2 separate regions of the Homo sapiens genome follow, and region 1 is linked to region 2. Evidence: promoter capture Hi-C in human tissues and cell types (Jung and others, 2019). All regions are on one chromosome and are shown on one strand. Each heading gives the region's core, a stretch centred on a gene start or on the middle of the fragment in contact. The rest is flanking DNA. Distances are from core to core; before and after follow the strand shown.

Region 1 (2,926 bases), core at 31-2,530, 300 kb before region 2:
TCTCGCGGCCGGATTTGAGCTTGCTCCACGGCTTGGGGTTGCGCAGCAGGTCGGAGAGCGTGCCCTGAGAGCGACACAGGATCCGCTGCGCGAAGATTGCCTGCGGGATGCTGTAGCGCTTCAGCTCCGCCGTGATGCGCTGCGCCACCTCCTTGGTGTTGATCTCCTCGGCCGCTGCGCCCGCGCTGGGGCCGCCGCCGCTCCCGCCGGGGCCGCCGCCTCCCCCGTGCGGCCCGTGCGCCCCGGCCGCCGCCAGCCCGCCCAGCGGCGCCAGCAGCCCCGCGGCGCTCCCGCTGCCCGCTCCGCCGCTGCCTGTGCCGCCGCCGCCTCCGGGCAGCCCGCGGGCCAGTGCGTCCTCCGCGCGTCCCAGCAGCGCGGCGTGCGGCTCGAAGGCGGCGGGCGGCAGCAGCTTGTCCCCAGCCAGGTGGCCTGGCGGGCCGTAGGCGGCCAGCGGCGGGGGTGGTGGCGGCGGCGGGGGCTGCGGGGCGCCGTGCAGCGCGGGCGGCAGCGCGTTGGGCAGCGGCGACAGCGGCGACCCCATGGCGGGCAGCTCCTTGCCGTAGGGTCCGTAGAGGTGGCCCACGGAGGCGAGCGCCGCCCGCTCGTCGCGCATGAGGGTGAAGCTGCCGCTCACGCTGGCCGCCAGACGCTGCGGCGGGGGTGGCGGGGGCGGCGCGGCCGCCGGGTGCGGGTGCGCGTGGGGATGGCCGCCGTGCGCCCCGGCCACGGCCGCGGCCGCCGCGTGCTGGTGGAACTTGTCGGCCACGGCCGCGAGCGGCGGCAGGTGCTGCAGGGGCGTGAGCGTCGTGTAGGTGCCGCCCAGGCCCGGCGCCTCGCAGGCCATGCCCATTGCCGGGTGCAGCGGGCCCGCCAGTTCCCCGCGGAAGTCCGCGCCGCCGCCCGCGCTGCCCGCGCCGCCCGCGCCCCCGGCGCCCCCACCGCCGCCGCCGCCGCCGCCGTCCAGCAGGCTCGCCATGCCGGCCACCAGGCCCGGGCGCCCGGGCGCCACCAGGCCGCGGTGCTGCGCCGCCGCCGAGCGCGCGTGGCCCGGGCTCAGCAGCTCGCCCGCCTGCGCGTGGGCCACGCTGTGCAGGCCCCCCAGGCTCTCCAGGCTCAGCTCCATGCTCGGCTGCCCTCCCGCCGCGCGCGCTCCTCAGCGCCGGCCCCTAGTGCTCAAGGCCGCTGCATGACTCCCGCCCGCTCCCCGGTGGCTGCGCGCGAGGCTGCCAGGCTGCGCGGCGCACGGCCCGGCCCGGCTGCGAGCGCGGCCACCAGGATGTGGCAGGGGAGCGGCCGCCGGCGCCCGGGCCCGGGTCTGACGTCAGCGCCCCCGCCCACCCGCTCCTGCCACCGCTGCCTCCCGCAGCCTCGCTCTCCGCCCGCCCCGGCCCCACTCGAGCACCAAGCAGGCCGAAGTCGGCCAGACTTGGGGCTTCGGCGTCCCTGGCCACTGCGCCCGCCCGCGCCCGCTGGGGCAGGCCGTACCCGGGGGACAGCGGGCGGGGGTCCGAGGACAGACTCTGCCCAGGTGGGGCTGGGGGCCTCGACCCAGAGTCTCCGATTTCGCGTCTCTGTGTGATTCTCTCCAGAGTCCCAGATGTGGCTTTCTGCCTGGCACCCCCAAGTCCATCTCCAGGGAGTTTCTGGGAGTGTGGCTGGACGGTCGCCTGTAATGTACGTGTCCCCCCCCCCCCCCGTTCCCTACAGACCCCCAGGAGCTAGATCCCCACTGCAAGCTCAGCTTCCCCCGACTCCCACTCACACCTACGGAGTCACAGCCCCCTTCCCACAACCTCTTTGTGGAGGAAGTGGGGGAAAAGGGAGGTCCTAAGGCTAGGTCAGGGCCTCCGTGCGCCCCAGGGGTCAGCCTCTGCCCATGTGTGGGCACCTGGGCCTCCGTTTCCCCAACTGTACAATGGGCTGCCCGGCCTCGGGGTTGCCAAAGGCCCCTTCTAATTGCAGGGCCTTTTTACAGTGCGGCCGCTGGAGGCACTGGAGCCTGGGGGTGACCACTAAGAGCCCCTGTCACCCTCCAGCCCACGGAGGCTGAGGCTGGATCCCCTGTCTTCTGAGACGTCGCTGGTGCAAACTCCTCTTTGTCCCTGGGGCTTCTCTTCAATGTGGGGGGAGGCAGGGGTCTCCTTTTTCTCAGCACCTGGAGACAGGTGAGCCCCAGGGGCCCCTGGGAACTGGGATAGATGGGGGAAGGGCTCCTATAATCAGAGAGACCCCCAGGGGACTAGATCCCGCCAGTGGGGTAAGGTCAGGGCTGCGGATCTGGAGGGGCCAGACCAGAATCTAGAGGATGCTCTGTCTTGTAGGCCAGAGGCTACGGTGCAGAGTCCAAAACCAGCCTCAGCCCCTTCCTGCTTCCCCGTTGCCTCTGCCCCCCCCACCCCCGGGGTAACGCTTGTGCACTTTCTAGAAGAGGAAGGGGATGGGTCAGGCAGTCGGTTCGCGGGAGCCCCCAGTTACCCCCATCTCAGAGGGTTGCATCAGGGCTCAAAGCTGAAGGAAGAGGGGAGGACACAGTCAGGCTGTCACTTCCCCTTTGGTGCAAACCTTCTGGGCAAACCCCGGCCCCAGCTTTGCACCTGCATCCAGATTTCCTGGCCCCTGTAGACGTGGCTACACATTGGAGATGCGATTTTCTGAACCAAGACTAGGTTGGCTCTGGAATAGGGCCCTTTCTGTGCCTCAGTTTCCCCTTCTCTGGTGTGGGAGGGGGTGCCCTCCAGCCTGCCCAGCTGGGAGCCGGAGGTGAGTCTATGCTGACCACAACAGCCAGAGAGAGAGGGGGCCTGAATGATCTGGGCCCCCAGCCTGAGGTGGCCTGATCCAAGTCCTGGGGAGGGATAGGGCTGAAGGGGACCCCTGTTAGTACTCGCTGCTTAGGGCTCGGCATTTAGTAAGTGCCTGTTATTTA
Region 2 (2,700 bases), core at 1-2,500:
GGTCACCATCCCATGCCCAGCCAGGTGGAAGGACCAGATGACGTGCAAAGCAACACATGTCTGCCTCCTGCTCCCCAAACCCAGGCCTCCCCCACGTGGTTCTTCTCAGCTGACCGAAGCCAAGCCTCAGACACCTTCCCTCTCCCCACATTCGGTGGTCATTTCTGCATCCTCATCAGACTAAGCTAGTCCCTCCAAGCTCTGCCCAGCGGGATCATGCCTCCCCCAGCTCCTGACACCCCTCTGTGAGGACATTCTGATCAGCCTCTTCCTGGCCTCCCACAGTCCCCCATGCACAGCCAGAGGGAGCTTTAAACGTCACAAGTGAGATCCCATTTCTCCCATGCTCAAACACCTTCCATGGCTCCCCAGTGCCCTCAGGATACGCTCCGACTCCTCCATGTACACCGCGACTCACTTAGAGGCTGGAGGCTCTCTTCTCTCAGGCCTTTGCACGTGCAGTTGCCCTGCCTAGAGCACCTTTTCTAAGTCCTGCCATCCCACACAGTGCAGCTTCTTCCACGAAGCTCTTCTGCCTACTTTCACCCCCAGGTTGCATCGTGTAGCCTCCTGGGGGCCTTCCTGAGCGATCACTCCCTGAAGGCACCATGACTGGGGGCTGGTCTTATTGAGCGGGCTGCATTTCAGGGGAGGGAGGCACAGGTATGGGAAGCCAGGCCCAAAGGGGCCTTTCTCCTTCCTTTAATCCAAACCCCCTCTTTCCAGAGAGGGAAACTGACACCCAGAGAGGTGCAGCAACACCCCCGAAGACACACCACTGGCCTGCCCATCCCTTCCTCCGATCACCTCAGGGAGGTCCGGATGGTGAAGCCCGTGAGTGGGTGTGTGCGCAGGACCGGCTGCAGAAACGCTGACGCCCAGCTCACCGGGACTCAGTTTCCCCTCCAGCTCCCACTCTGGGGAAATGGAGGGTCCAGAGTCTGTGCTGACGGGCAATGCTGAGAGCCAGGGATGGAAACCTCGACGCGAGGCGGAGGTCGCGCCCCTGCCCTCCTCCCCGAGGACACACACCCGCTTACGTGCAGCTGGGCTGGCGGGGCGCCTGGGTCTGGGGCCTCCTCCCTCTGCGCGGCTCCGCGGGCCCCACCGGAAATCCCGGCCCGGGGTGGCCTCGGAGCGCGCGGGCTCCGGGGTCTCCGCGGCGCGGGCAGGGGCTCCGGGGCGGACAAAGCCCGGTCCGGGCCTGGGCAGGCGGCGCTGCCGCTCCTAGCGCTGGGCGAGACCACCGCGAGCGGGGGAGGATGCGGGATGAGGGATGCGGGTGAGACAGCCAATGAGGGCGCGGGAAGACGGGCTGGTGCCATGGCAACAGCCAATGGCGGCCCGGGGCGGGGACCGGCGTCGGCCGCGGGGCGTCGGGCCTCCGCGCGGGCTCAGGGGCCGTGAGTGCGGGGGGCGAAACCCCCCCGAGGGAAGGGGGTGCCCCGAGGACCAAGATTCCTGTGTCCCGCACTTTATTGCAGGGTGCAACGGCCTCTTAAAACCTCCTGCGTCTGGATTTGCAGAATTGGAGAGTAAAACATCAAATCCTGGATGTTACATCAGCATCTTGGCGGGGGAGGGGTTTCCAGGGCAGTGGCCGGGCTGGGGCCAGGCCTGCACCCACCCCACAGGTCCAGCCTGGCCTGGTGCAGGTGCGTCAGGGTGGGACAGGGTTCGGGTCCAGGCTGGAGCTCCCTGAGGGTCCTGCCTGGTGGGGAGGGGAGAGGGGAGGAGGGGCAGGGCCACTGGGGAGCACCTGGGACGCTGCATCTCCCCACATTTCTCCCTGTCTCCCCAACGGAGCGTCAGATCCTCCTGTAACTCCGTTGCTCTTCATGTCCCTCTCTCTTTCTGTCTCCCCCTCTGTTCTCTGTCTCTCAATCTCTGTCTCCATGTGTCTCTGCCCCTGGTGGGTGGCACACTTAATTCACCCTCACGGACCGAAGGCCAGAGGAGGGAAGGGCCAGGGGTCCCAGGAGTCGCCATCTCCAGGTGTCCTGGATGCTCCATGAGTCCCTGGAAGCCATTTGAAGGTTTAACACACAGAGCCCGTCCCTGCAGCTCGGAGCAGCCCTTCCTGCTCTGGACACAGACTCACAGCACAGAAAGGGAGGCGACTGGGGCCAGAAGAGTGATTTTTTTCCGTGCTGGGCAGGCAGGGCAAATCATTCGCCGCTCAACCCTCGGTTTCCTCCTCTGTAAAATGGAGAGGAGGCGGAAGATTCTGCAAGGGCTGGTGCAGGGAATGATAGGAGAGGGTGGGAAGGTCCGAGTATTCAAGGCCCCGTAGACAAAGGCAAGGGAGGACCCGTGCTGTTTCCTGTTGGGCCTTGAGCTGAAGACCCGAGGGCCTTGTCCCGGGCCAGCACTGCCAGGGGCTGAGAGCCCTTCGGCCTGGCTGTCTGGGAGCCCCCAGAGCTGGACGCAGCTGTCCCCACTGGTTGGGTCTGGGGAGGCAATGCAGTGGGCAGACACAGGGGATCTTTTCTTTTTTCTTTTTCTTTTTTTTCTTTTTTTTTTTTTTGAGACGGAGTCTTGCTCTGTAGCCCAGGCTGGAGTGCAGTGGCACGTTCTCGGCTCACTGCAAGCTCCGCCTCCCAGGTTCACGCCATTCTCCTGCCTCAGCCTCCCGAGTAGCTGGGACTACAGGCGCCCGCCACCACGCCCAGGCTAATTTTTTGTATTTTTTAGTAGAGA

What was found. The method cuts DNA at HindIII sites, captures the fragments that hold promoters and counts their contacts. A contact is called where the count stands out against the background at its distance.
Region 1: a contact is called between the fragment with the promoter of ONECUT3 here and the fragment with the promoter of APC2 in region 2, in 1 of the 25 tissues and cell types used here (H1 embryonic stem cells).

Annotation. Positions count from the first base shown.
Region 1 is chr19:1,751,860-1,754,785 of GRCh38, reverse strand. It overlaps ONECUT3 (one cut homeobox 3), which reads right to left and starts at 1,280. Exons shown (of 2, transcript NM_001080488.2): 1 at 1-1,280. The coding sequence starts at 1,123. The HindIII fragment of the contact is 24,245 bases long and covers 1-2,926 here.
Region 2 is chr19:1,448,671-1,451,370 of GRCh38, reverse strand. It overlaps APC2 (APC regulator of Wnt signaling pathway 2), which reads right to left and starts at 1,250. Exons shown (of 15, transcript NM_005883.3): 1 at 1,033-1,250. RefSeq lists a silencer at 1,204-1,403. The HindIII fragment of the contact is 30,284 bases long and covers 1-2,700 here.